Linked DNA regions of Homo sapiens: regions 1, 2 and 4 are each linked to region 3. Evidence: promoter capture Hi-C in 16 types of primary human blood cells and fetal thymus (Javierre and others, 2016). All regions are on one chromosome and are shown on one strand. Each heading gives the region's core, a stretch centred on a gene start or on the middle of the fragment in contact. The rest is flanking DNA. Distances are from core to core; before and after follow the strand shown.

Region 1 (7,640 bases), core at 845-3,344, 180 kb after region 3:
TATTTCAATGTTTTTCACATTTTTCATGAGAAAAATAAACATGGAACCAATGTTTATTTATGCAGTAATGTCTAAATGAGCCTCTGGTTAATTATCTGAAGTGAAATTCTAGATTTGTGCTTTGGTTAGTAGGGCCTGAGTGGTACCCTGTGCTATATTTATGTGAAAAGGGTAGGTGGGTCCTACCTTCTCTGCTAAGGAAGTTGCAAAAGCAATAGCATTTTAGTTTAGCAAATGATGGCTGTAATAGAATTGGTGGGGAGACAAAAAATCCAGGTGGTTTTTTCTGATGCCATAAACTGAGAGAGATAGTGGAGAACGATTGACCATTGAGGAAAATTTGGGCTACATATATAGTTCCCATGATTTGCAGTGCTGTATACTGGGGAACACAGAAGAGTCTATAAGGATTCAAGTAAGAACCTGGTTTTGCTGTATTAGGAACATTTTCATAAATGCTTCATAATCTCCAGATAATTATTTTATATACTATAATTTTGTTCAGAGATAAATAGCTTAGAAAGATTGGCACTTCGTAATTAAGAGGGTTTTAATAATTTACATACAGAGAAAGACTTTTTTTCTTTTTTAAGGAAGGAGGTGTGTAGTAATTTGACAAGATTCCTGGTGAAGTATAATTCTTTTTACATCTTCAGTGGGAGCAGACAAGACACTGGAGAGCTGTGCATGGCAGATGTTAGTACCTGGGAATTTTAACTGGAATTAAGAGGTTATATCCCTGGCATTCAGTAGTTTAGCATAGTGCTTTTCATGGCTTTCTCTCTTTTCTGGGCAATCCACCAGCCAAGAGTTTGTTAAGCTTTACTTTCTGTAGGCCTTTAAAAAAATAAATAGTATATGCTTTTTCAAAATACACCTTCCTCGCCCCTTGAAAAATAAAAGCTGATATTTATTGAGCACTTACTGTGTCACAGATACTGTGTTAGGCACTAGACTTTTTTTTTTTTTTGAGATGGAGTCCTGCTCTGTCTCCCAGGCTGGAGTGCAGTGGTGCAATCTCAGCTCACTGCAACTTCCGCCTCCCGGGTTCTAGCGATTGTCCTGCCTCAGCCTCCACGAAGAAGAAGCTGGGGCGCCACCACACGCCTGGCTAAGTTTTGTACTTTTGGTAGAGGCAGGGTTTCACCATGTTGATCAGGTTGGTCGCAGACTCCTGACCTCGTGATCCGCCCGCCTCAGCCTCCCAAAGTACTGGGATTACAGGCATGATCCACTGCACCCGGCCGCATAATGTCTTTTTTTCTCATGTCTTTTTTTTTTTTTTTTTAGACGAAGTCTCGCTCTGTCACCAGGCTGGAGTGCAGTGGCATGATCACAGCTCACTGCAGTGTTGATCTTCTGGACTTAAGCGACCCTCCTACCTTAGCCTCCCATGTAGCTGGGACTACAGGTGTGTGCCACCACGCACCTGGCTAATTTTTTTTATATTTTTATAGAGGTGAAGTCCTGCTGTGTTGCCCAGGCTGGTCTCGAACTCCTGGGCTCAAGAGGTCCTTCTGCCTCAGCCTCTCAAAAGTGCTAGGATTAAGACGTGAGTCACCGTGCCCGGTCATGGGTGGCAATTTCTACCTGATGTATTTCTTATTTGCCCCTTTTGCTTTTGTTTTCCCTACCCACTTTTTGTCTTGTATGCTTGTATGTTACCCATATTTCTCAGCATGACAGTGGACCCTTCATGAGTCTTCTTGGTGTCCTCCAGGGCTAGGCTTGCTGACATATGGGCTATTGGAGGATATGCAGGTCCACATCCTTTATTTGCAGTTCTGAAATGCAAGAGTTTTTGTTTTTTGGTAAGTCTAGTTCCACAACTAGTTTTGGGGTACAGCCTGACCTGGGCTATCCTGCATGATGCAGAAATGTGACTGCTTGATTATGGGGAGCTACTCAGCCCTAGCTGGGAGAGAGAGATGATACAGTATATGTACCATATTACCTTTCTAAAATCCAAACAATGCTGATGACTCTAACGGGGATCTCTCCCTCTACCATAGACTAATATGTTTAGTGGCCCACTCAAGGTCTCCACTCGATGTCTCCTCTTGGATAACTAAGAGACATTGTTGACTCTTCTGTGTCTTTTTCATATGTGGTCCATCAGTAAATTTTACTGCTTTATATTCAAAATACTATCCAGAATTAGACCACTTAGGATCTGCATCTCCACTGCCCTAGTCAGTGCCTGTGCATCTCTAGCTTGGATTCTATTCTCCTTGTTTTGTTACTGCGGCTCTTAAATGTGTTCTCAACATAGCAACCCAAGTGATTCTTTTGAAACCTAAGTCATACCGTGTCACTTCTCTGCTTAAAACCATCCAGTGGCTTTCCATTTCAGTCTGAGTATTAAACCTGAGTCCTTATTTAGATATGTCTGTAATGAGCTGGGCGCGGTGGCCCATGCCTGTAATACCAGCACTTTGGGAGGCTGAGGCAGGCGGATCACGAGGTCAGGAGATTGAGACCATCCTGGCTAACATGGTCTCCACTAAAAAAAATACAAAAGAGTTAGCCGGGCATGGTGGCACACGCACCTGTAGTCCCAGCTACTCGGGAGGTTGAGGCAGGAGAATGGTGTGAACCCGGGAGGTGGAGCTTGCAGTGAGCCAAGATCGTGCCACTGCACTCTAGCCTGGGCGACAGAGCGAGACTGTCTCAAAAGAAAAAAAAAAGGATATGTCTGTAATTTCACCATTTTGGGAGCTCAAGTGGGAGGATCGTTTGAGTCCAGGAGTTTGAGACCAGCTTGGGCATCATAACAAGACCCTGTCTCTATAAAAAAATTAAAAATTAGCCAAGCATGCTGGCGCGTGCCTGTAGTCCCAGTTACTTGAGAGGCTGAGGCAGGAGGATTGCTTGAGCTCAGGAGCTTGAGGCTGCAGTGAGCCATGACTGTGCCACTGCACCCCAGCCTTGACGACAAAATGAGACCCTGTGTCAAAAAATAAAAAAACACCTGTAAGAACAAATCTGATGTACCCTCTGCCTGCCACCCTTATCCTAGTACCTCTCTGACTACATTTCTGACTAGTCCTTCTTTCGTTTTTCTTCAGCTACCCAGCCTTCATGCTGTTTTGGAACATGTCAAGCACATGTGAGCCCTCACAAAGACATGAGGGTCTTTGCGGTTGCTGTCCCCTCTGCCTAGAAGGCTTCCTCCACTAATTTCTGCATGACTAGCTCCCTCACTTCCTTTACTCAGAAGTTACCTTATCAGTAGGTATTATCTGACCATTCTTATCTACAATTTCAAAAACTCTTCCTTGCCTTTTGTTCTTGATACCTGTCACTGCCTACTATTCTAAATATTATACTTTGTCTATTGTGTCATCTTTCACTAAAATATAAGCTTCTTGAGGGAAGAGATTTTTGTTTACCGTTGTATCTCCAGCTCCTAAAACACCTGGTGCATAGTATGTGCTCAGTAGATATTAGAGAATGTATACATGAATGAATGATTTGGTTTCCACCACAGACAAGACAAAGCAGTATGCTGAGCATGGTAGAGGATACATAGATGGTTAAAGATGTTATGTGCCCATGTTTGTGTGGGAGCAGAAGAGCTAATGTGATAAAAGCAGTGTGAGATGTGAGTGACACTTCCACCTGTCCTTTCAAGAACTATCTCAAGTTCTATTCTTTGTAATGCTCTATTTTCTTTTCTTTCTTTCTTTTTTTTTTTTTTTTTTCTTTTTTTTGAGACAAGGTCTCACTGTGTTGCCCAGGCTAGAGTGCAGTGGTACTATCTCGGCTCATTGCACACACACACATACACACACCCAGCTTCAAGTGATTCTCCTGCCTCAGCCTCCCGAGCAGCTGGGATTACAGGCATGCGCCACTACACCCAGCTATTTATTTATTTATTTATTTATTTTGAGACGGAGTTTTGCTCTGTCTCCCAGGCTGGAGTGCAGTGGTGCAATCTCGGCTTGGCACAATCTCAGCTCACTGCAACCTCCACCTCCTGGGTTCAAGTGATTCTTCTGCCTTAGCCTCCCGAGTAGCTGGGATTACAGGCACCCACCACCATGCCTGGCTAATTTTTTTTTTTTTTTTTTTTTTTTTGAGACAGTGTCTCGCTCTGTCGCCCAGGCTGGAGTACAGTAGCGCGATCTCAGCTCACTGCAATCTCCCCTTCCCAGGTTCAAGCAGTTCTCCTGTCTCAGCCTCCTGAGTAGCTGGGATCACAGGCGCCACCACCATGCCTGGCTAATTTTTTGTATTTTTAGTAGAGACAGGGTTTTACCACGTTGACCAGCCTTGTCTTGAACTCCTGGCCTCAGGCAATCCACCTGCCTTGGCCTCCCGAAGTGCTGGGATTACAGGCATGAGCCACTGCACCTGGCCTTATAGATATTTTGAAAGATTATATTTCTTATATTAAATAGAGATAGGGTCTTACCATGTTGCTCAGGCTGGTCTTCCTGGACTCAAGCAATCCACCTGCCTCAGACACCCAAAGTGCTGAGATTACAGGTGTTAGCCACCATGCCTGGCCTAATACTTAATTTTTAAAAAACTTTTTCTTTGGAAATAATTTTAGACTTCAAAGAGAGTTGCAAAAATAATACAAATAATAGCCCTATAATCTTCACCTAGATTCCCCAAGTGCATCTTTTAAAACCACAATACAGTGATCAAATCAGAAAATCAACATTGATAACAATTATTAATACATTTTGAATTTAACTAAATTTCTGTTCATTTTCTACCTACAGTAGTAAGAAATGTCTGGGTAACATCAGTGTCACCGAAGTCTGTATTGCCCAGATTGGTCTCAAACTCCTGGGCTCAAGCAGTCTGCCCACCTCGGCCTCCCAAAGTGCTGGGATTACAGGCCTGAGCCACTGCACCTGGTCTGGACTCAATTTTAGTTTTTGAGTTTTGCTTTTTTTTTTTAAAGCAGTACTAACTACTTGTAAAGATGTATATTTCATGACTTTTATTTATTGGAGGTCTTCAAAACAGCAAAGAGAAAATTTATTTTTATTTTTAATTTTATTTTTGAGATGCGGTCTTGTTCCATCCCCAGGCTGGAGTGCAGTAGCGCGATCTTGGCTCACTGCAACCTCCGCCTCCTGGGTTCAACTGGTTCTCCTGCCTCAACCTCCCGAGTAGCTGGGATTACAGGTGTGTACCACCATACCCAGCTAATTTTTGTATTTTTAGTAGAAATGGGGTTTCACCATATTGGCCAGGCTGGCCTCAAACTTCTTATCTCTCGAAGTGCTGCGATTACAGGCATGAGTCACCATGCCCAGCCTGAAAATTTATTTTTTTTCCAAAGGAATAAACTCATTTTAGCTATTACCACTTGTACATCGAAACAATGTTGTGGAGTTTTACTGATCTTATTTTTCCTGTATATTGAAATGTTTTGGTATTTCATCATCCTAGGAATTATTTCATCATTACTCATCAATTCTCAAATATGCTAAAGAGGACTAAAATAATATGACAAAGGGAGAATTATAGAATTGCTTAAAAGGATATGCAGTAGTGAAATAAATCATTAGTTTTACACTTCAGTTTTTAGAGATGGGGCCTCGCTTTGTTGCCCAGGCCGAAGGGCAGTGGTATGATCATAGCTCTCTGCAGCCTCAAACTTCTGGGCTCAAGTGATCATCCCTCCTAAGCATCCTCGGTAGCTGGGACTATAGGTGTGCACCGCAGCCCTTCAGTTTTCTTATTGCTTTTCCCAAAACTTACAGCAACTTTTTTTTTCTTTTTGGATACAGGGTCTCACTCTGTCACCCAGGCTGGAGTGCAGTGGCGCAATCTCAGTTCACTGCAACCTTCGCCTCCCAGACTCAAGCAATCTCACCTCAGCCCTCCAAGTAGCTGGGACTACAGGCATGTGCCACCACACCTGGCTAATTTTTGTATTTTTTTTGTAGAGAGAACGTTTCGCCATGTTGTCTAGGCTAGTCTCGAACTCCTGGGCTCAAACAATCCACCCACCTTAGCCTCCCAAAGTGCTGGGATTCCAGGCATGAGCCAGCATGCCCAGCCTACAGCATCTTTCAAGAAAGTATAAAAGAAGTTGGGAGATACCATCTTAAACATTATGTAAGATGTTAACATTTGGAGAATCTAGGTGAAGGAGTACATGGTAATTTTTATACTATTTTTCAACTTTTAAGCTTTCATTGGACATATTTAAAAATCCATAGTTTTTCATCTTCCTCCTATAATGGCAAAGAGAAGAAAACTGACTACAGAAGACATTTCAGAGGAACTAGTAGATGAATGCTGTGTGACAGTAGTACTCTAGACTGTTAGGATGACGGTAAAGTTATATAAACCAAGTTGTAAAATAAGAGTCTTCAGCCAGGCATGGTGGCGTGCACCTGTAATCCTAGCATCTCGGGAGGCTGAGATGGGAGGATCACTTGAGCCCAGTACTTCAAAACCAGGCTGGGCAACATAGCAAGATTCTGTCTCCACCCATATACATATGTGACTGTACCCTAGATGAGTTTAGAATGTGATTTTTTTTTTTTTTTTTTTTTTGAGACAGAGTTTTGCTCTTATTGCCCAGGCTAGAGTGCCATGGCACAATCTCGGCTCACCGCAACCTCCGCCTCCTGGGTTCAAGGGATTCTCCTGCCTTAGCCTCCCAAGTAGCTGGGATTACAGGCATGTACCACCATGCCTGGCTAATTTTTTGTATTTTTAGTAAAAGATGGGGTTTCTCCATGTTGGTCAGGCTGGTCTTGAACTCCCAACCTCAGGTGATCCACCTGCCTTGGCCTCCCAAAGTGCTGGGATTACAGTCGTGAGCCACCATGCCCAGCGGTGAATTTTTTTTTTTTTTTTTTTTTTTTTAAAGATGGGATCTATCTCACTATGTTGCCCAGGCTGGATTTAAATTCCTGAGCTCAAGCTGTTCTCCTGCTTCAGTTCCCCCAAGTAACTGGCACTATAGGCATCCAGCTAGAATGTGATTTTCTTTTTATAAGAATCAGAACTGGGCTGGGTGCAGTGGCATATGCCTGCAATCCCACCTTCTTGGGAGGCTGAGGTGGGAGGATCGCTTGAGCCCAGACGTTCGAGACCAGCCTGGGCAACATAGTGAGACCCCATTTCTATTTTTAAGAAATGAAAAAAAAAAACAATCAAAACCACTGCACTTTGCCAAAAAGATGTATGATAGTATTCTTTCATCTTTCAAGATATTTGTACACCAAAACTTAGTTGATGCAGTTTGTAAGTGGACAGGTGCCAAAGTTACGTATATGTATAAAGATGGTTAGAAGGAAAAATTATGTAAAAATGAAAAAAAAAATCAGTTTTTTTTTTTTTTTTTTTTTTTTTTTTTTTTTGAGACAGAGTCTCACTCTTGTTACCCAGGCTGGAGTGCAGTGGCATGGTCTTTGCTCACTGCAACCTCTGCCTCCTGGGTTCAAGCGATTCTCCTGCCTCAGCCTCCCGAGTAGCTGGGACTACGGGTGCGTGCCACTGCACCCAGCTAATTTTTTGTAGTTTTGGTACAGATGGGGTTTCACCGTTTTAGCCAGGATGGTCTCAATCTCCTGACCTCGTGATCCACCCGCCTCGGCCTCTGAGAGTGCTGGGATTAGAGGCAAGAGCCACACGCTCAGCCTGGATTGTTCATTCTG
Region 2 (7,643 bases), core at 4,211-6,710, 230 kb after region 3:
CAAGCTCTGCCTCCCAGGTTCATGCCATTCTCCTGCCTCAGCCTCCCGAGTAGCTGGGACTACAGGCGCCCGCCAACACGTCCGGCTAATTTTTTGTATTTTTATTAGAGACGGAGTTTCACCGTGTTAGCCAGGATGGTCTCGATCTCCTGACCTCGTGATCCACCCGTCTCGGCCTCCCAAAGTGCTAGGATTACAGGTGTGAGCCACTGCGCCCAGCTGATTGCTTTGTTTTGTTTTGTTTTTTTGAGACAGGGTCTCATTCTATTGCCCAGGCTGCAGTGCAGTGGCACAATCACAGTTCATTGCAGCCTCAACCTTCCAGACTCAAGTGTGATCCTCCCACCTCAGACCCCCACCCCTACCCGCCACCGAGTGGCTGGGACTACAGGCATGTGCTACCATGCCTGGGTAAATTTTTTTTTTTTTTTTTTAAACTTTAAATTCTGGGATACATGTGCAGAACGTGCAGGTTTGTTACATAGATATACATGTGCTTTGGTGGTTTGCTGCACCTATCAACTCATCATCTAGGTTTTAAGCCCCACATGCATTAGGTATTTGTCCTAATGCTCTCCCTCCCCTTGCCTCCTACCCCCTGTGGCTAATTTTTTGTTTTTTATAGAAACAGTGTTTTACTACATTACCCAGGCTGGTCTCAAACTCTTGGGTCCAAGCGATCATCCCACCCTGGCCTCCCAAAGTGCTGGGATTACACACATGAGCCACCATACCTGGCCTGATTGGCTCCTTTTGAAAGAAGGCTAAATTAGGGACCCCTTTCTTTTTAAAGACAGAGTATTGCTCTGTCAACCAGGCTGGAGTGCAGTGGTGTGATCTCGGCTCACTGCAACCTCTGCCTCACGAGTTTAAGCCATTATCCTGCCTCAGCCTCCCAAGTATCTGGGACTACAGGTGTATGCCGCTACACCCGGCTAATTTTTTTTGTATTTTTAGTGGAGATGGGTTTCACCATGTTGACCAGGCTGGTCTTGAACTCCTGACCTCAAGTGACCCACCCGTCTTGGCCTTCCAAAGTGCTGGGATTACAAGTGTGAGCCACTGCGCCTGTCCCAGGAGCTTTATTTTGAAGTAATTAGGAAGGGAAGAGTGGAGTGAATAAATGAGGTGGTAGAAGGCCCCATACCACCTATATCAGGAGAGGGACTACTGAAAGTGGGCTCAATCCTCAGTGTGTTTATATGTCTGGTTTACATTATCATTTTTAAAAAGGGAAGTCTGGTTTGTCTAAAGATGTAAAATGATACGTATCCTATTTAGTGTATCTGTTACATTAAATTGACTGGCTGTGCTTACTTGTGTGGATAGGTATCTTGCTGGTTTTTGTTTGTTTGTTTGTTTGTTTTGGTACTCTTTTAGCTCTTTGCCAGTTTTCCCGCCTCACACTTGGTTCAGCAGTTTCTGGTGTGTTTTTAATTGAGAACCACATGCTGCCTGGCCACTGGCAGGTGGTTGGCCATCTTTGCCCCAGCATTTATAAGGAGTTGCACCTATTTGCAGAAAGCTAAATCAAGACAGATGTTAACTTCCATAGGGAGTGTTATCAAGCTAAAGAAGGCATTTCTTTGTTACTTACGTTTAGTAAGGTTAACTGATGAGTTTAGCAGAGCTTGGCATTTGTTTTTGACAGAGTGTTCCTATCCTCTCTCAGCTGGTATGCCTCCAAATGAGAGGCAACTTCATTTCCCATTTGTGACTACAAGGGCAAACATGAAAGAAGTGGGGTGTGCATGTGTTTAAGATTTGGTGGGATGAGCTAGTTTGAAGGAATGTGCGTTACCAATCAAGATAGGTTAGTAATGCCTCAGTACAGACAACTCCCACATCTGAGTGACTTGTAAAACCAATGGGTTTAATTTCTAATCATTCTACATGTACATTGATGTTTAGCAGGGGATTTGGCATATCAGAATTACTTGGGGATTCAGGCCAAGGGATTGCTGCCATTATGAATGTTGCTAGTCACTAGGAGGAAAAGAGAGCTTGGAATGATCTCACACCTTTAAATGCTGCAGCCTAGAAGTAATAAACATTACTTCTACTCATCTCATAACAACTCATTGGTCAAAACTAGTTACATGGCCCTATCCAATCATAAGGGAGCCAGGAAGTTTAGTCCATTTTTTGTTCATAATTGGAGAGCAAGAGGGGCCAGAAATATTGACCAAATGACTACCACATTCCCAAAACAAGAAAACTTAGGGAACACTTCTGCAAACAGTTGGTTGTAGACCGTTGAGACTGCTCATTTACTTCATTTTCTGTTTCTCATTTAGAGAACCTTATTTTAAGCTAGGGAAAAAGTAGACTCAAAGGTTGCCAGGAGTCCAATAAGAATTTAAATGGTTACCCGCAGCTACAACAGTGAACTCCTTAAGTTATGATAGTCACTGCTCTTATTATTACTGGATGTGGAACAAGGCTATTGAATATTTAAGTATTTGAATATATTTAAATATTTCAAGTTAAACCAAAAAACTCTCAAGACAAAGCGGTCTTTTGGGATTGTTTTGATTGTTATTGTTTGTTCATAATGGATCTTAGCAATTCAGGAAAGTTCAGGGAAACGTTTCAGTAAAGTCATCTCCTGTTTGGTTCCTCTGGTCTAAAATCAGTAGTCCTAAGCAAAGCACACGGTGGTGGTGGCGGCAGCAGCGACGGTGGTGGTAATAACTACCATTTATCCAACTTCATCCTGTGGTTCTTATGTGCCAGGTATTGTGCTAAATACTTTATGTGGATTGTATCATTTAATCCAGACACAGGGTTGTGAGAGTAATAGGTGCTGTTATCCCTATTTTGCTGATAAAGAAACAGTCTTATGTAGCTAGTAGGGCAGAACCAGGATTCAAATCCAAGGAGTTTGACTCCCTACCTTATTCTTCTAAACACTACTCTATTCTATTTTGATTTGGGTCCTGAGCATACCCTTCTTTGTCTTCCTCTTCAGCTTGATGTAGTTTTAGAGACCAATCTGGCAACAATCCGGGTTCTGGAAGCAATACAGAAGAAGCTTTCCCGCTTGTCTGCTGAAGAACAAGCCAAATTTCGCTTGGACAACACCCTTGGGGGCACATCAGAAGTCATCCATAGAAAAGCACTCCAGAGGATATATGCTGATAAAGCAGCTGACATCATTGATGGTCTGAGAAAGAATCCCTCCATTGCTGTTCCAATTGTCCTTAAAAGGTACATGAGCAAATGTGCCCTTAGTGCTTTAGTGTACTTCACTACCGGTTCAGTGTCTCATTAAATAAGGCTCTCATTTTCAACCTGGTTGTCCCATGAGACCTCTCTTTCTCCCCAACCCTGGTTGTTGGAATTCAGGTGCAGAATGGAACTTCTTTTGGGGGTCCTGTGTAACCAACATTAGAGAACAAATCTTGTAAGTTCATGGTGGAAGGCTCTGTGTGTATGTTTGGGGGAGTATTTTAAAATACAGAAAAGAAAAGAAGATAATTACCACCCATGTTCCTGCCACACTCAGGACTAACTGTTGTTAACATCTTTGTGGTTTGTTTGTTTTTGTTTTGTTTTGTTTTGAGACAAGATCTCACTCTTTCACCCAGGCTGGAGTGCAGTAGTGTGAACACAGCTCACTGCAGCCTCAACTTCCCAGGCTCAGGTGATCCTCCCACCTCAGCCTCCCGAATAGCTGGGACTACAGGAATGTGCCACCACACCCAGCTAATTTTTATTTTATTTTTTTTAATAGAGATGAGGTCTTGCTATATTTCCCAGGCTGGCCTCTAACTCCTGGGCTCAAGCAATCCTCCTGCCTTGGCCTCCCCAAAGTGCTGGCATTACAGGCACAAGCCACACCACACCCAGCCCCATGTCATTATTGACCACACTGTGAATCCTTTGTTAGGAGCTTGGTTCTCTCTCAGTATCATCTGGTAAAAATTAATTCTTATTTGCTGCACAGTTCACAAATACCCAGATTTGATTTGTCCTCCCTCATCTTCCCCTCAAGAGCTGGCACAGATTGATGGTTTCTTCTCCCTCATCTTCCCCTCAAGAGCTGGCACAGATTGATGGTTTCTTCTTCTTGCCTGTAGCATTTAACTTCTGGCTTTTGAGATACAGGTTATTCTTCAGTTTTAGTGCTTTTTTTTGTCTTAGTCTGTTCTCTTCTGGGTTATTAGAATCAGTTCTGATCAGAACTTTCCTGACTGTATCCAGAGGAACATAACTGTGCAAGTTCTCTTGTCTTGGACTTCTGTGTTTCTATTAGCATTGTGAACGTTTTGCAAAGTCCTATAGCAAAGAAACAAGAACTCTTTTTTTCAAGGAATACTTATACCTGAAAGATATTCCCTGGAATGCTGTTTTTAAGTAACCATTCTAGGTAAATTATTTGACTTTGAGATAAATCATTTCCTCAAAGTAAGTCTTGGATGAGTAATTCCCTCATGAAACAGAGTTCAAGACTGGTTTGATAGCATCCCAAGTTGCCAGTAATTTTGAGAGACCTAATATAGCTTTGCACCTTTCTTTAACTAAAGTAAGCCTGGCAAATTTCTTTCTTCTAAACCCTCTGAATTCCCATGTGTTGTTTCCATCCCTTCCCGCTTCACTAGGTTGAAGATGAAAGAGGAAGAATGGCGAGAAGCTCAGAGAGGCTTTAACAAAGTATGGCGAGAACAAAATGAGAAATACTACTTGAAGTCTCTGGACCACCAGGGGATCAACTTTAAACAGAATGACACCAAGGTCCTGAGGTCTAAGAGCTTACTCAATGAGATTGAGAGTATCTATGATGAGGTGAGCGGGGGGTTTCTGCATCTGTGAGAGGACTCTAGTCTATATTTAGCACAGCTTTGATTTCTGGAAATTACCTTTGTTAAATGCAGGTGAGACTCTCTAAGACCTGTTGATTCTTGCTTGATAGCTGTCATAGCCTTTTCTATTCCTCATTCTACCATTTTAAATCTAAACTATACCTTTATACCTAAGCTGTTTGACTAGTTTCCTAGTTTACTGTCCTGGTTTCAACTTATACCTCCTGCCTCCATTTTCCACTTCTCCGACTACCTGTTTCCTTCAAACAATAATACCTTGTATCCATATAGTCCCATCTCTCCTTACTTACAGCTTCAAAATTTGTCATTGACCACCAAACTCTTTGTAATCCTTGCTTATTCAGCATGCCTACCAGGACTATAAATAGTACTAGGAGCTAGGATCAGAGATGAATAAGCAATAAATCCTGGTTTCCGTGGGCTCAGTTTTAGGAGATGGATAGAAACATAAATGCAGTGCAATTGGGAATTCCTGGAGTGGGGTGATCCTGAACTTTAAAAATAGTAAAATGAGCTCTTATGTGAACTTAATCAGGCCGGGCACAGTGGCTCATGCCTGTAATCCCAGCACTTTGGGAGGCTGAGGCGGGCAGATCACCTGAGGTCAGGAGTTAGAGACCAGCCCAGCCAACATGACGAAACCCCGTCTTTACTAAAAATACAAAAATTAGCCAGGCGTGGTGGTGTGCACCTGTAGTCCCAGCTACTCGGCAGAATGAGGTGGGAGAATGGCTTGAACCTGGGAGGTGGAGGATGCAGTGAGCTGAGAACATGCCACTGCACTCCAGTCTGGGTGACAGAGCAAGATTCCGTCTCAAAATCAATAAAATAAATAAACTTAATCCTCCATATTTTGCTGATGTTACTTTGTCACCCTCCATACCCCCACCCCAGAAGTAAAGTAAATCACAGATCTCATATCATATCCTTTATATAGATACTAATCCAGAATTTTGAAAGATAGTCCCACTGGGCACAGTGGCTCACGCCTGTAATCCCATCACTTTGGGAGGCTGAGGTGGACAGATAACTTGAGGCCAGAAGTTCGAAACCAGCCTGGCCGACATGGTGAAACCTCATCTCTACTAAAAATACAAAATTAGCCTGGCATGGTGGTGCACTTCTTAATCCCAGCTACTCAGGAGGCTGAAGCATAAGAATGGCTTGAACCCGGGAGACGGAGGTTACAATGAGCCAAGATTGCTCCACTGCACTCCAGCCTGGGTGACAGAGCAAGACCCTGCCAAAAAAAAGAAAGAAAGATGGTTCCAATTCTGTCCTACTCTCCCTGTAAGTCATCAGTGTGTAGAAGGTACCTGTATTTTGACATCAAACCACGTCTCTGTCATTACCTATTTGTTTCTGGAAGAGGGACAAAAATTATTGTTATAGTCAGGTCCTAAGTTTTGTTTTGAGACAGAGTCTCACTCTGTTGCCCAGGCTGGAGTGCAGTAGTACGATCTCGGCTCACTGCAACCTTTGCCTCACGGGTTCAAGTGATTCTCTTGCCTTAGCATCCCAAGGGCTGGGATTACAGGCACCTACCACCATGTTCAGCTAATTTTGTTATTTTTAGTAGAGGCGGGGTTTCACCATATTGGCCAGGCTGATCTCAAACTCCTGACCTCAAGTGATCACCCTCCTCGGCCTACCAAAGTGCTGGGATTATAGACGTGAGCCACCGCTCCCAGTCCCAGGTCCTAAGTTTTTGATTAGAAAAATATAGACACTGTGGTTGATAATGGGATGTATGGCTGATGTGGTCTTGTAGACATGTTGTCGCTGTAGACATCTCACAGAATACTTTTGTGTCTCTGTCCCATCAGAGGCAAGAGCAGGCTACGGAGGAGAATGCTGGTGTACCTGTTGGCCCACACCTCTCACTTGCGTATGAAGACAAACAAATACTGGAAGATGCTGCTGCTCTGATTATCCACCATGTGAAGAGGCAGACAGGCATTCAGAAGGAGGACAAATATAAGATAAAACAAATCATGCATCATTTTATTCCAGATTTGCTCTTTGCCCAAAGAGGTGATCTCTCAGATGTGGAGGAAGAGGAAGAAGAAGAGATGGATGTAGATGAAGCCACAGGGGCAGTTAAGAAGCACAATGGTGTTGGGGGCAGTCCCCCTAAGTCCAAGTTACTGTTTAGTAACACAGCAGCTCAAAAATTAAGAGGAATGGATGAAGTATACAACCTCTTCTATGTCAACAACAACTGGTATATTTTTATGCGACTGCACCAGATTCTCTGCCTGAGGCTGCTACGGATTTGTTCCCAAGCCGAACGGCAAATTGAAGAAGAAAACCGAGAGAGAGAATGGGAACGGGAAGTGCTGGGCATAAAGCGAGACAAGAGTGACAGCCCTGCCATTCAGCTACGTCTCAAAGAACCTAGTGAGTGCCGAGACCTCTGATTTACAGAGGATGTGTGAGGTTGAGGACCTTAGAGCCACCTAGACTTGGGACTGCTTCTTTTATTAATAGAGCACAGGCATTAGAGTCTGTGTAGTTAAACTCTCTGAACCTGTTTATCTGAAAAATGGAGGCTCTAGTTGCTTGTGGTGTTGCTTTGTGCAAAGTATCCTATGCAGGGCTTAGATCATGGACACTTGGTCAGTGGTTGGTACTGTGGACGCACCTGGGAAGGGGGTATCACAGTTAATTTCTCAAATGGCAGATTTCTGGGTTACTGCCATCTGTTTCAAAGTACAGATAGAGACTAAACTGTCACAGCCAATTTCAATCCATGACAGAACATAAATTCCTAGTGCTTAAAACAGAATTTTCTCATATTTTTGAGCAGGACTTCTG
Region 3 (7,838 bases), core at 955-3,454:
AACCCCTGGGCCAGGTGCTCTGGTTTTTGTTTGTTTTGAGACAGAGTCTCCAGGCTGAGTGCAGTGGCAGGATCACAGCTCACTGCAGCCATGACTTCCTGGGCTCAAGTGATCCTCCCACCTCAGCCTTCCAAGTAGTTGGGATCATGACTCATACCACTACACCTAGCTAATTTTTTTTTTGTGGAGATGGGTTTTTGTCATGTTGCCCAGGCTGGTCTCAAACTCATGGGCTACTTCCACCTTGGCCTCTCAAAGTGGTGGGATTACAGGCATGAGCCACAGTGCCTGACCTGGTTTTGTTTTGTTTTTTCAGTGATATGGGAAGTTATTCAGCTAGGTGTGAGTGAGGAACTAGAACATTTCTCCTGGACCTCCAGGCATGAATTTGGGAACTTCTTTCTCAGTCTCAGTCTATTTTCCTAAAATGTTTAAGGTCTTTATTCTTTTCTATGCAGCCCGACCATTAGATGTGACCTCCGTGGTTGTAAGGGATGGTTGTTTGGACACAAAATACCTAATATCCTGGGTGTCAAAATTCCCTAGTGAAGTCAGGCCCTGGACTTCTCTTTTTTGTCAGTCTCATAAATCAGGCAGACATGAGCTTTTATTTGTGGATGCACCAAATAAATACCCTAGTGGACAGCTTTGCTCAGCCTGGCCACTGAAAGAGCCACCTAAATAAAATCTCAGGTCCAGGCCGGGTGCGGTGGCTCACGCCTTTAATCCCAGCACTTTGGGAGGCCGAGGCGGGCAGATCATGAGGTCAGGAGATCGAGACCATCCTGGCTAACACAGTGAAACCCCGTCTCTACTAAAAATACAAAAAAATTAGCCGGGCATGGTGGCAGGCGCCTGTAGTCCCAGCTACTCAGTAGGCTGAGGCAGGAGAATGGCGTGAACCCGGGAGGCGGAGCTTGCAGTGAGCGGAGATTGCGCCACTGCACTCCAGAGCCTGGGCGACAGAGCGAGACTCCATCTCAAAAAAATAAAAAAAAATCTCACGTCCAGAAAAATTGGCCTTCCAGGGCCCCAGAACCCTTTTTACCAGTCTAGTAATAGCCTTTCATCAGCCTAATTTCCTATTCTTTTTAGTCTGAATGTATGGTGTAATGTGCATAAAATACACAAGTCCAAATTTTAGCATTCCGTGGACGCAAAATGTGCCAAAGGTGGATACTTTGCTTCTGTCATACATCGGTAGTCAACTTCCCTATACATCAAACTTTCAGCAAATTCAAACATTTTCCTTGAAAGCTGTGTTACTTTGGCCAAATTACTTAACCTCTCTGAGCTTCAGTGTGTCTACTTCCTCATGTCATGATTAAGAGTTAATATCTACTGGCTTAAAAAAGAAAAAAAAGGAAAAAAATTAAATGAGATGATGGGTGTGAAGCAGGGATTGGCTGAATGTAAGCATTCAATAAATATTCAGTTTTAAAATTGTAATCTCAGCCTTCCCGCCCTGCAGAGGCTACACCCTGGCAGGACTTAATCTCCTAAATCTCTGCCGCTTACCCTAGTCTTTTGCACCAATTTAATCATTCCTTCACGCAGGGTCTACTGAGCGCCATCCCTTGTGCTGGACTCTGGCTACTTAAATAGGAATCAAGCCAGGTCCCTACCATTGCTCAGCCCGCAGCCGAGTGGGAAAGAAGCTCGCAAAAGCAGCAAACAGGCAGTAATCGAGGTATGTATCTGCTTTTGTTAAGGGCAAGTGGGGGAGCGAAGGTCTGTGTCTGAAACTTGGGTGTGAGGGGTTAGTTGGAGTAATCCAGGCAATTGGCACTGCCCGTTTAAGAGCACGGGCCCAAGAGGGGAAGGGGACTCCAGGTGAAGCCCTAAGGCCCGGGAAGATCTGCGGGAGGCGGCAGGGCCCAGGGCGTTGAATGCCCGGCCACAAGATCAGCCTCCTCCCATTGGCGAAAGGAGCCCCGAAGAGCTTGTGTTCAGGAGGGAGGCCTCGGCCTGGTCAAGTCATCTAGCAGGAAGAGTCCCGGACAGTGCAAAGCAAATGCAAGAAGACCCCCTCCCTAGCCGATGGGAAATGCCCCAGCCGTTGAAGGCGGAAATAACGGCCTGTAGGCAACGGAACTCCCAGCGTTCGCAAAGGAGGGAGGAGCCGGAAACTCAGGGCGCGAGGCCTGTGGGCCCAGCGGTGAGGCAGCAGCTGGGGGCGGGGGGAGGGCGGACCTAGCTTCCCAGGGCAGGTGATTCGTCGGCCCCGGTGGCGGCGGCGCGTGCGACGGTCACCTCGGTTTGGGTGAGTCCCTGGGTTCGAGCCCGGGCCCCGCCAGCTGCCGAGTTGCCTCTCGGTGCCGGACTGTGACTCCCTCTGGCCGGCCCTGCACTCTGGCCTCCTGGGACGTCATCTGGAGGGATAGAGCCAGGCCTGGGACTCCTTTTGGGAGAGTTTCCGTTCTTCTATTCCGTGCTGTCCGGCCAGGACCCCTCAGGGACTTCTGTGGGGCAGGGGCGAATCATGCATGGCCTAGATGACCCCATGCCTAGAAAAAGGCAGTGCGGGGCGGTGGCGGCGCGCACGGCCGAGTGAAGCAGATAGCGTCCCCGGGGCTGGAGCCCGGTAGCAGGGGTAGGGAAACGCGGAGGCTGCCAGGATGCGGACCCAGGGGACGCGAGGCGGGGGCGCCGGATGGGGAGACGCGAAGGAGGGGGAAGGGGATGGGGGAGGGGGCTAGACAGGGAGGGAGGGTGGAGCGTGGGCGGGGCCTGGGGCGGGTCGGACTTTAGGGAGTTGGAGCGGGGGTTACTGGTGCTAAGACCACCTGGGGCTAAGGTCCGAACACTTGGAGGCAGCACCATCCAAGGAATGGGTTGAAACAGCAGGAGCCCGGCGGGGCGCAGTGGCTCACGCCTGTAATCCCAGCACTTTGGGAGGCCGAGGTGGGCGGATCACCTGAGGTCAGGAGTTTGAGACCAGCCTGACCAACATGGTGAAACCCCATCTGTACTAAAAATACAAAAAAAATTAGCCGGGCGTTGTGGCGCGTGCCTGTAATCCCAGCTACTCGGGAGGCTGAGGCAGGAGAATCGCTTGAATCCGGGAGATGGAGGTTGCAGTGAGCCGAGATCATGCCACTGCACTCCAGCCTGGGCAACAAGAGCGAAACTCTGTCTCAAAAAAAAAACAACAACAACAAAGAAAAAACAAAACGAAACAGCAGGAACCCGCCAAGAACAGCCTTGAAGGAAGGTAAAGGAACCGCCCCAGTATCCAGGACATCAGTTTTTCTTTTTTTTTTCTTTTTGAGACGAAGTCCAGGCTGGAGTGCAGTGGCACGATCTCGACTCACTGCAAGCTCCGCCTTACGGGTTCAAGCCATTCTCCTGCCTCAGCCTCCCGAGCATCTGGGACTACAGGCGCCCGTCACCATGCCTGGCTAATTTTTTTGTATTTTTTTTTTTTTTTTTAGTAGAGACGGGGTTTCACTGTGTTAGCCAGGATGGTCTCGATCTCCTAACCTCAGGTGATCTGCCCGCTTCAACCTCCCAAAGTGCTGGGATTACAGGCGTGAGCCACCGCGCCAGGCCCAGGACATCAGTTTCAAAGGTTGTGTGGTTCTTGGCAGAGCGGGAGCCCACACCAAGATAGTGCATGATAGGCCTAATAAAGGTGCTTTGGATTTGGTCATTACTTTGGTGATGAACTGAAAACATAATGACTTTTTAAAAATTTTTATCGGCCGGGCGCGGTGGCTCACGCCTGTAATCCCAGCACTTTGGGAGGCCGAGGCGGGCGGATCACGAGGTCAGGAGATCGAGACCATCCCGGCTAAAACGGTGAAACCCCGTCTCTACTGAAAATACAAAAAATTAGCCGGGCGTAGTGGCGGGCGCCTGTAGTCCCAGCTACTTGGGAGGCTGAGGCAGGAGAATGGCGTGAACCCGGGAGGCGGAGCTTGCAGTGAGCCGAGATCCCGCCACTGCACTCCAGCCTGGGCGACAGAGCGAGACTCCGTCTCAAAAAAAAAAAAAAAAAAAATTTTATCATGAAAGCTTTCAAACTTACACAAAAGTACAGAAAAGTAGAGACAATAGCATACATACCATTATGGATGATTTGAATAACATACCATATGGATCCCAAGCACTCATCATGAGGCCTCAGTCACTCAGGAATGGCAACCCTTGGTTGCATTGCAAAGATATTAAGGCACACCTCAAGCCGGGTGCAGTGGCTCATGCTTGTAATTCCAGCACTTTGGGAGGCTGAGGCAGGCAGATCACTTCAGGTCAGGAGTTTCAGACCAGCCACGCCAACATAATGAAACCTCTTCTCTACTAAAAATACAAAAATTAGCCGAGCATGGTGGTGCATGTCTATAATCCCAGCTACTCAGGAGGCTGAGGCAGGAGAGTTACTTGAACCCAGGAGGTGGAGGCTGCAGTGAGCCGAGATCACACCACTGTAGTCCAGCCTGGGAGACAAAGTGAGACCCTGTCTCAAAAAAAAAAAAAAGGCCGGGCGTGGTGGCTCACACCTGTAATCCCAGCACTTTGGGAGGCCAAGGTGGGCAGATCAGGAGGTCGGGAGATCGAGACCATCCTGGCTAACACGGTGAAACCCCGTCTCTACTAAAAAATACAAAAACAAAATTAGCCGGGCGTGGTGGCGGGCGCCTGTAATCCCAGCTACGCGGGAGGCTGAGGCAGGAGAATCACTTGAACCTGGGAGGCGGAGGTTGTGGTGAGCCAAGATCGTGCCATTGTGCTCCAGCCTGGGCAACAAGAGTGAAACTCTGTCTCAAAAAAAAAAAAGTTTCTTTTATGTTTAAAGGTTACAGAGGTTCAGTTATTCAAGATAAAAGGAGTTCTGGAGAGTTCTGCACAGCAGTGTTGAACATACTTAACTTTACAGAACTGTACACCTACAAATGGTTAAGATGATGAATTTCATGATATGTGTATTTAGCCACAATTTTTTTTTCTTTTTACAGACAAGGTCTTGCTATATTGCCCAGGCTGGCTTCGAACTCCTGGGCTCAAGCATACCTCCTGCCTCAGCCTCCAGAGTAGCTGGGACTAAAGGCAAGCACAACTGCACCTGGCAAACCACGATTTTTAAGTTCCTTTTAAATTAAACAAAATCTAATGTTTCAAATCAAGAAAAATATCTGACTTCACTTGTGCAATGGAAAGTAACTCACTGGCCAAGTAGAGGCCTATGGAGTTGTATTTTTCACTGTAGAGGCTCTGGAATGAACCTGTTGATTTTGATGCTCAGAGCACTGGACCTGGCCTGGGATGGAGGTTAAGCACTGGAGGTGCCCTCTGGTTTACACTAGAACCAAAGGGCTGGGCCAGCCCAGCAGTGCAAGTCAGATTTCTCCCAAATGTTCCTGTTTTCTTATAATCTAAGGCTCACAGGCGCTTGAATGAAGTGTGAATTCACCTTTCTCCCCACTCCCATTCTTTAGGGTCCACCTAAAGTGGGAAGTCTGTTTTCAAAATGACATCTACTCCATGCCTGTCTTGTTTCCCTAATGTACTTTATGGAAGTTCTTCACACTACTGGAGCATTGACGTTACTTGTTAAGCAGCCTTCCACATCCTAGCTCTTTTCCAAGTGAGTCCCACATAAGTAGCCCTGAAACCTTCTTTCTGCCCACCCAAAAACAAAACACAACTAGAATATGAGGAAGTAACAATCAGATTTTTTAAAAAATAAATTATAATTTAAAATAATTTTTTACTTTTTTATTTAAAAAGTAGAGACATAGTCTCACTACATTGTCCAGGTTGGTCTTGAACTACTGGCCTCAAGTGATCCTCCTGCCTTGGCCTCCCAAAGTGCTGGGATTACAGGCATGAGCCACCTGTAATCCCAGGTCGCTAGAGTTTGTTTTTTTGTTTGTTTGTTTGTTTGTTTTTTGAGATGAAGTCTTGCTGTGTCGCCCAGGCTGGAGTGCAGTGGCACGATCTCGGCTCACTGCAACCTCCGCCTCCCAGGTTCAAGCGATTCTTCTGCCTCAGCCTCCCGAGTAGCTGGGATTACAGGCGCCTGCCACCACATCCAGCTAGTTTTTGTATTTTTAGTAGAGACGGGGTTTCACCATGTTGGTCAGGCTGGTTTCGAACTCCTGACCTTGTGATCCACCCACCTCGGCCTCCCAAAGTGCTGGGATTACAGGCATGAGCCATCGTGCCTGGCGAGTTTGGGGTTTTTGATTGCTTTTGTCTTCCTCCAGGGACCCTAGAACCAGTGTTTCCTCTGGAATTAAATTTTCATAATATGAGTTGGCACTTAGTTGAGAATTAAATAACCAATTGAATAAACTGCATGGAGAGTTATATTGGTTAATGAGTGATGGCTATTCAGGAAACTGTAGAGGAACTGCTCAGAAAAGGCCGGGCGCAGTGGCTCACACCTATAATGCCAGCACTTTGAGAGGCTGAGGAGGGAAGATTGCTTGAGCCCAAGAGTTCAAGACTAGCCTAGGCAACATAGGGAGATCCCGTCTGTACCAATAAATTTTAAAATTGGCTGGGTGTGGTGGTGTATACCTGTAGTCTCAGTTACTGGGGAAGCTGAGGTGGGAGGATTGCTTGGGTCCAGTAGATTGAGGCAACAGTGAGCTGTGATTGCACCACTACACTCCGACCTGGGTGATAGAGAGAGACCCTGTCTCAAAAAAAAAAAAAAAAGGAAATATCTGTAGGAAAATAATGTTATTGCTAATATATGACTCATTTACCCTTTAACTTCCTTTTGTCTCATGGAAACACTTGTGATTTTGCATTAAGTTAATTTTTTTTCAGGAATGTGGCCATCATATCATAACTGCATAACTGTCTGTATACAGGAGATGATATGAAATGAATGAACCATTTTCTTACGTTTTCCTTTGTAGGGAAGATGGAAGAGTTGAGTCAGGCCCTGGCTAGTAGCTTTTCTGTGTCTCAAGATCTGAACAGCACAGCTGCCCCACACCCCCGCCTATCCCAGTACAAGTCCAAGTACAGTTCCTTGGAGCAGAGTGAGCGCCGCCGGAGGTTACTGGAACTGCAGAAATCGTAAGGAAGCTTTAACTCCTTGTCTTCTTTCTCTGGGCTAGGAGCTATGAACCATTCCGAAGGCTCTAGGCTTGTCTCTACAGACTCTCCCTTCAAAGTAGACTCTTTGTAGGCTGATCTTCTTGCCCACAGGTTGGGAGGGGTAAATCCTGGCAGAGGTAGGTTTCTTTTATACCCAGAGCTTAGGAGAAGATGAGGAATTAGGGAGACACCGAAGTTTGAAACCAAAAGCTCAATTATTTGGTTAAGTTTTTCTTTTTTTCCTGGCAGCTGTACTGAGCTCTGTGGTTTAGGAACTTGCGAAAGCCACGCCCAGACTTTCACTCCCCACATTTCCTGGGATGCTTGTGTTTGGCTTCTGCACTCTGAATGCTGGTATTGGTGTGGTCTTCCCATCTGCCTTCAGCCCAAATGTTTCTGTGGCACTCTTGGGAGTTCAAGACAAATAATTCCTAAGGGAATCTGAGGAAATGTCTTCCATATACTTAATTCTAAGTGCCAAGATGTGCAAACAGGGAAAGAGGGCAGGATAAGAGTGTTTGAGGCTGAGCTACTCTGAAGGCAGGGCCGATCCTTGTATTCTCAATGCAGCATGGGCCTCTTCTGGGTCATAAATTAAGGAATTAGGGATCAGAAGAAACTACTAACAGCTGCATAGTTTCCATACAGTCTGCATTTTGCCCAGTGTTGCATCACTGGTTGTGTTTGGCAGAGATGGTTCCCTGTGGCTCTGGGTGGCTTGCAGAATACATTCCCAGATCATTCCTCTCCCCATTTTTAAAAATGTAGTTATCTTTGAATAG
Region 4 (7,214 bases), core at 1,771-4,270, 200 kb after region 3:
GGTACATGCCTGTAGTCCCAGCTACTCGGGAAGCTGGGGTGGGAGGATCATCTGAGCCTGGGGAGGTCAAGGCTGCAGTGAGCCATGATTGTACCACTGCACTCCAGCCTGGGTGAGAGAGCGGGACCCTGTCTCAATAAAAAGGTAAGAAAAAAAATTACGGGTTTATGTATTTTTGTTGTTTTGTTTTTTGAGATGGAGTTTCACTCTTGTTGCCTAGGCTGGAGTGCAGTGGCGTGATCTCAGCTCCCCGCAACTTCCACCTCCCTGGTTCAAGCAATTCTCCTGCCTCAGCCTCCCGAATAGCTGGGATTACAGGCATGCGCCACCATGCCTGTCTAATTTTGTATTTTCAGTAGAGATGGGGTTTCTCCATGTTGGTCAGGCTGGTCTCGAGAACTCCCAACCTCAGGTGATCCGCCCACCTCGGCCTCCCAAAGTGCTGGGATTACAGGCATGAGCCACCACGCCCGGCGGGTTTATGTATTTTTTATTTCACTTTCATAGTAATTTATTTTTATTGGATTTTTATAAAAGTTGTGGTCCCTGATGGATTGAAATTTTAAGAAAAAAACTCATCCTTTACCACAGACAGTTTGAGATAAACTATATAATTTTTTTTCTTCTTTTTGGAGACAGAGTCTTGCTCTGTTTTCTAGGCTGGAATGCAGTGGCATGATCTCAGCTCACTGCAACCTCCACCTCCCAGGTTCAAGTGATTACCGTGCCTCAGCCTCTCAGTAGCTGGGATTACAGATGCGTGTTACCACGTCCAGCTATTTTTTTTGGTATTTTCAGTAGAGACAGGGTCTTACCATGTTGGCCAGGCTGGTCTCAAGCTCCTGAACTCAAGTGATCTGTCTGCCTGGGCCTCCCAAAGTGCTGGTTACAGGTGTGAGACACTGTTCCCAGCTAAACTATATATATATTTTTTTGTTTGTTTGTTTTTGAGATGGAGTCTTGCTTTGTCGTGCAGGCTGGATTGCAGTGGCACGATCTTGGCTCACTGCAAGCTCCGCCTCCTGGGTTCACGCTATTCTCCTGCCTCAGCCTCCCGAGTAGCTGGGACTGTAGGTGCCCGCCAACACGCCTGGTTAATTTTTTGTATTTTTAGTAGAGACGGGGTTTCACCATGCTAGCCAGGATGGTCTCGATCTCCTGACCTCGTGATCCGCCTGCATTGGCCTCTCAAAGTGCTGGGATTACAGGCATGAGCCACCGTGCCCGGCTATATAATTTTTAATAGCTACAAATAATTTTGTTATAACTTTGGTGGGCTGTAATTTATTTAACCAGTTCCTTTTGTGGAAAATTTGGGTTTCTTTCTTTTTCTTTTCTTTCTTTTTTTTTAGAGACGGTCTCATTCTGTCACCTGGGCTAGAGAGCAGTGGTGTGATCACAGCTCACTGCAGCCTTGAACTCCTGGACTCAAGCAATCCTCCTCCTTTAGCCTCTGGAGTAGGTGGGACCACAGGTGCATGTTGCCATGCCTGGCCAAGTTTTTATTTTTTGTGGAGATGGGTGTCACTATGTTGCCCAGGCTTTCTTTTCTCTTTTTAGAGACGTGGTCTCACTCTGTGGCCCAAGCTGGAATGCAGTGGCATGATCATAGCTCACTGCAGCCTTGAACTCCTGAGTTCAGGCGATCTTCCTATGTAGGTGAGATAGGTGTGAGCCATCACGCCCAGCAGAAATTTGGGTTTCCAATTAATTATCTTTGTGCATTTGTGTTAGTTATTTAGACTCATTTGGGGAAGAATGTACAAGCCTTGAAGTTTCCTGTCTGTATTTTGTTCACCCCAGGTTTCAGCCATGCCACAGAGCTCCGGCAGTCATGGGCCCGCTATAGCAGCAGTTCATAGCAGCCATCATCACCCAACAGCGGTGCAGCCCCACGGAGGCCAGGTGGTCCAGAGTCATGCTCATCCAGCCCCACCAGTTGCACCAGTGCAGGGACAGCAGCAATTTCAGAGGCTGAAGGTGGTATTCAGCTCTTTTTCTTGGGTCAAAAAATTTATCTTTAGCAGGAAATACTGGTTGCAGCTTGTTGGTTGTGGTGGTACAACTTCTAACCTGAGATACTAGCTGTCGAATCACAAGTTTTACCGTTTTTGTTTTGTGAAATTTGCTTATGTTTCCTATCTTGGCATCAGTGCCTGATCCAGAGAAGAATATACTCAAATGTTTGTGGACTGTATGAATGCATGTCGGTCAAATGTTATCAGGATTGTGGGGCCATTTTAATACAAAATAAACCTTAAAATTCATTTTTTGGCTGCTTCCTTTTGAACTCTCTATTGAGCACATATATGATTGGCTACAGGTTAGTACAGTAAATTGGCCCAGTAATATATCTTACAGTTCAATCTTTTTAAATTCTTAAAAATTTTTTTTTTTAGTTTTTAGTTTCAGAGATGGGAGTCTCACTGTGTTCCCCAGGCTGGTCTCAAACTGCTGGCCTCAAGTGATTCTCCCATCTTGGCCTTCGAAAGTGTTGGGATTACAGGTGCGAGCCACTATGCCCAGCTCATGCCTGTAATGTTCTTATTACCTTTATCTTTTTATTCCTGTTTATGAATAGCTGAATTGACTCACATCATCAAGTCCATTCTTAGTAAAACACATGCTCCTTTTTGGGGGGAATCTTTATAAAGTTCAGGGAAAACTGTAACTGTGAATGAATTATCAGTGTTTTCATATTTTCTGCTGAGTATGTGTGGTACGTTTTCAGTGCTTTGAAATTCATGAGGCATCCCTGGAGAAGTGAAGCTTGTGTTCCCAGCTAACCTTGTATCTCTGACCACTTGAATGTTACTTTTCAAAATATGTGATTGTTGCAGCAAGTGTTCAGGTTTCAATTTTTCTAATTTTACGTTTATATAAAATTAAGTTCAGGAAATAATAAATGGAGGAACTCTGAAGAGATGTTAAATCTTCATTTGGTTATTGCAACCTACTTATGTTGCTTGCAGGCACGAATGAGAAATAAACCCTCTAAGGACATATCCATATGCAGCAAATAGTTGTTTCTTCTGTTTTCCCTGATACTTACTTTAGTTCTTCTTGATCCCTGCCCTCGTTGGTGTGGATTCTTGGGAACTTGTTTAATATTGGCCTAAGAGTATTAAATGCTACATAAATATTATAAAGTACAGCAAAGCTATGTGATTTAGAGTAATTTTGTAAAATTTACTCTCTATATTGGCTTACATAGTATTGACTAATGCATAGCCTTTTAAAGAGAGTACAGGTTTTTTAGGCCTGAAGCTTCACTCTGGATTCTGTCTTTGGGAAAATGTGTATAAGGAATATTGATGTTTCCTTTAAAACATTTTCAGTCTGTTGTAGAGTGATGGCTGTGTACCAAAATGTATTATTGCTGCGGGCTTAGCACTTTACTAAGTCCTGAAAATATTTTTTTTAAAACTTGGTTGTGCGTGATTTAATTCTGTATTAACACTGTATATTCAGTAGTTATACTTTAATGTTGCAAAATAGCTTATAAACTTGCTTATTAAACTAACAAAAACATATGTATTTCTATAGCCTTTTTCAATCAACCCTATCAAAGCACAACACCAGTTTTTACCCACCTTCCTCACAGGACTCTTTGGTATAAGTATATGGATTATGTTTTGTTTGCTTTATGGAAACTGGCAAGGAAACAAGGAAAGGTTTTGGATTTGGGGTTATAGAGTGAGTCATAGATAGAGTTAGGATTTCTTGTTGTGTTCTTTTAGTCACAAGCTCTTGACTATATTCCTGCATAAAATAACTTGTTGAATTTCCTTTCTGATGAGGAGAGGTAAAATGCTTCTTGTACCTCCATGTAATTTAACTCAGTATTCCCACATTGCCTGTCATTTTTGGATCAGTCTTAAAATGCATTACAAGCATTTGAATCAACTTCAATAAATCATTTATATTCTATAATAATGTAGGCCGGGCATGGTGGCTTACACCTGTAATCCCAGCACTTTGGGAGGCCGAGGTGGGTGGATCACCTGAGGTCAGGAGTTCAAGACCAGCCTGACAAATGTGATGAAACCATGCCTCTACTAAAAATACAAAATGAGCCAGGCATGGTGGCGCATGCCTGTAATAATCCCAGCTACTCAGGAGGCTGAGGCAGGAGAATCGTTGGAACCCAGGAGGCAGAGATTGCAGTAAGCCAAGATCATACCACTGCACTCGAGTCTGGGCGACAAGAGTGAAACTCCGTCTCAGAAAAAACAAACAAAAAAAAAGAAATGTTCAGTGAGAATGCTTACACATTATTTCAAGCCTCAACATTGTCTTTTTTTTTTGTTTTTTGTCTTTGGTAGATTGGTGGTGACAAGAAGGGATTTGAACGATTTGAGGCATGTTTGGTGTTATTTAGTTATTGAATGTCAGCAGCAGTGATATTTGGTACATATTTAGCAGGTTATCTTTACAGTTGCTTGTGTTTTTCTCTCCCAACAAGATTGTAGACTTCAGGAGATTCGGGGCCTTAATAGTAAATCCCTGTTGAAGTGAGCTAAGAAACTTTATCAGCAGAGTCTAAGGGTCTCCCCAAGTGCTTCCTTAAATCTGTAGCTTCTAAATAACTACATCCAAGTTTTTTTTTTAAGTTGTGCTACCTAGAACTGTATACATGCATTTATAGAGAGTTTATATAAGAGTTGGACTATGCTTTAGGTGATGAGAGAATTTCCTCACTATTTTTACATGTAGGTGTCTTATTTATTATGTGAGTGTCATGCAGAGTTTTTAAAGCATAGGATTATTCTATAACTTTTATTTTACTTTTTTGTTTTTTTGAGACAGAGTCTCACTCTGCTGCCCAGGCTGTAGTGCAGTGGCGCCATCTCAACTCACTGCACCCTCCCCTGCCTGGGTTCAAGTGATTCTTATGCCTCAGTCTCCCAAATAGCTGGGATTACAGGCATGCACCACCAAGCCTAATTTTTGTATTTTTTTTTTTTTTTACTAGGACGGGGTTTTTCCATGTTAGCCAGGCTGCTCTCAAACTCCTGGCCTCAAGGGATCCACCCTCCTTGGCCTCCCAGAGTACTAGGATTACAGGCATGAGCCACCACACCTGGCCTATAACTAATTTTTAAACAGTGGTTTGCTTGGTTTGCTGTGACTTTCAGTACCTTTTTGTTTCAGACATATACATATCACACATAATTGCTTTCTTTTGGGTTTCTGTACTTTTTCCGTCTCTGCAGTAGTTACCTTATACCATACCATGTCTTATTGATAACTGTTCTTTTGTTGTGTAATGATGCATGCTATTCTTAAATATCTTCCAAAGTCTTGGTTCCTTTTGCAAACTTAATATATTTTGTGTTCACTTAAGTTGGTCATTAATGAAACATTTTAGTATGGAAAGTTCAGAATATGAATTAAAATAGTCCATTGAATTTCAACAGAAATTGTCATGATATTTGTATAGAAAAACTAACCATCAAACAAGTGGGTATTGACCAACTATACAATCTGATTTCTAGCAACACCGAAACACTGATTAACCATGGCCGTAATGGAAGTCTGAAGAACTCTTAAACAGCCATTTGTCTCGGGGCCGGGTGCGGTGGCTCACGCCTGTAATCCTAGCACTTTAAGAGGCCGAGGCGGGCAGATCACGAGGTCAGGAGATCGAGACCATCCTGGCTAACACAGTGAAATCCCGTCTCTACTAAAAATAGAAAAAAAAATTAGCCGGCCGTGGTGGCGGGCGCCTGTAGTCCCAGCTACTTGGGAGGCTGAGGCAGGAGAATGGCGTGAACCCGGGAGGCAGAGCTTGCGGTGAGCCGGGAAAGCGCCACTGCACTCCAGCCTGGGCGATAGAGCGAGACTCTGTCTCAAAAAAAACAAAAACAAAAAAGCGGCCATTTGTCTCAATCCATTAGTGCTGCTATAACAAAATACCTGAGACTGTATAATCTAAATAATAGCAGTTTATTTCTCACAGTTCTGGAGAAGTTCTGGGGGCTGGGAAATCTAAAATCAAGGTGCTGGCCGGGTGCGGTGGCTCACGCCTATAATCCCAGCACTTTGGGAGGCTGAGGAGGGCAGATCATTTGAAGTCAGGAGTTCAAGACCAGCCTGGCCAACATGGTAAAACTACCGAAGATACAAAAAAATGAGCCAGGCATGATGGCATGCACCTGTAATCCCAGTTACTCTGGAGGCTGAGGCACGAGAATCGCTTGAACTCAGGAGGTGGAAGTTGCAGTGAGCCGAATTTGTGCCACTGCACTCCAGCCTGGGTGACAGAGTGAGACCATGTCTCAAAATAAATAAATAGGCCAGACGCAGTGGCTTACGCCTGTAATCCCAGCACGTTGGGAGGCCGAGGCGGGCGGATCACGAGGTCAGGAGATTGAGACCAGCCTGGCCAACATGGTGACACCCCATCTCTACTAAAAATACAAAAATTAGCTGGGCGTGGTGGCAGGCGCCTATAATCCCAGTTACTCAAGAGGCTGAGGCAGGAGAATCGCTTGAACCCGGGAGGCGGAGGTTGTATTGAGCTGAGATCGTGCCTTTGCACTCCAGCCTGGGAGACAAGAGCAAGACTTCATCTAAAAAAATAATAATAATAATAAATAAAATAAATAATAAAATAAAATCCAGGTGCCAGTTGGTTTGGTGTCTGGTGAGGGCCTGAACTCTGTTTTTCGAGATGGTCCCTGAATGTGTGTCCTTACACTGGAAGGGAGAAGGGCCGAAGGGACTAACACTGGTTCACTCCAGCCCTTTTATAAGGTCCCTAATCCCATTCATGAGGGCTCCACAATCACTTTCTGAAGGCCTCACTTCTTAATATCATCATATCGGTGATTAAGTTTCGATGTAAGAATTTTGTGGGACACATTTCAGACCACAGCACCAGTTAATGATTGACTTGAATGTAAATGTTCCATTTTGCAACAAATCAAAAGACTATCTATGCCTGGCCAGGTGTGGTGGCTCACATCTGTAATCCCAGCACATTGGGAGGCTGAGGCAGGCGGATCAGTTGAGGTCAGGAGTTCAAGACCAGCCTGGCCAACATGGTGAAATCCCATCTCTACTAAAAATACAAAAAAATTAGTTGGATGTGGTGACATGCGCCTGGAATCCCAGCTACTCAGGAGGCTGAGGCAGGAGATATCACTTGAACCCAGGAGGCAGAAGTTGCAGTGACCCGAGATTGCGCCATTGCACTCTAGCCTGGGAGA

Evidence for each region. Contacts are between HindIII fragments. The CHiCAGO score rates a contact against its expected background, and 5 or more counts as called.
Region 1: a contact is called between a fragment that was not itself captured here and the fragment with the promoter of SNUPN in region 3, in 13 of 17 cell types (total CD4 T cells, erythroblasts, activated CD4 T cells and 10 more). The highest score is 11.3, in total CD4 T cells.
Region 2: a fragment that was not itself captured here is called in contact with the fragment with the promoter of SNUPN in region 3 in 3 of 17 cell types (naive CD8 T cells, total CD4 T cells and non-activated CD4 T cells); the score reaches 6.2 in naive CD8 T cells.
Region 4: a fragment that was not itself captured here is called in contact with the fragment with the promoter of SNUPN in region 3 in 2 of 17 cell types (total CD4 T cells and naive CD8 T cells); the score reaches 5.2 in total CD4 T cells.

The regions. Positions count from the first base shown.
Region 1 is chr15:75,441,824-75,449,463 of GRCh38, reverse strand. All of the region lies in intron 1 of SIN3A (SIN3 transcription regulator family member A), which reads left to right. Among named protein-coding and RNA genes, the nearest start is that of SIN3A, 6.0 kb to the left of the region's middle. The HindIII fragment of the contact is 2,544 bases long and covers 823-3,366 here.
Region 2 is chr15:75,391,825-75,399,467 of GRCh38, reverse strand. It overlaps SIN3A (SIN3 transcription regulator family member A), which reads left to right. Exons shown (of 21, transcript NM_001145358.2): 13 at 2,972-3,210; 14 at 4,605-4,788; 15 at 6,653-7,226. Among named protein-coding and RNA genes, the nearest start is that of MAN2C1, 27 kb to the right of the region's middle. The HindIII fragment of the contact is 4,847 bases long and covers 3,037-7,643 here.
Region 3 is chr15:75,620,091-75,627,928 of GRCh38, reverse strand. SNUPN (snurportin 1) reads left to right here and starts at 2,204. Exons shown (of 9, transcript NM_005701.4): 1 at 2,204-2,263; 2 at 6,873-7,035. The coding sequence starts at 6,878. RefSeq lists an enhancer at 1,836-2,025 and a silencer at 2,676-2,725. The HindIII fragment of the contact is 10,585 bases long and covers 1-4,019 here.
Region 4 is chr15:75,417,413-75,424,626 of GRCh38, reverse strand. SIN3A (SIN3 transcription regulator family member A) reads left to right here. Exons shown (of 21, transcript NM_001145358.2): 3 at 1,804-1,980. Among named protein-coding and RNA genes, the nearest start is that of SIN3A, 31 kb to the left of the region's middle. The HindIII fragment of the contact is 498 bases long and covers 2,772-3,269 here.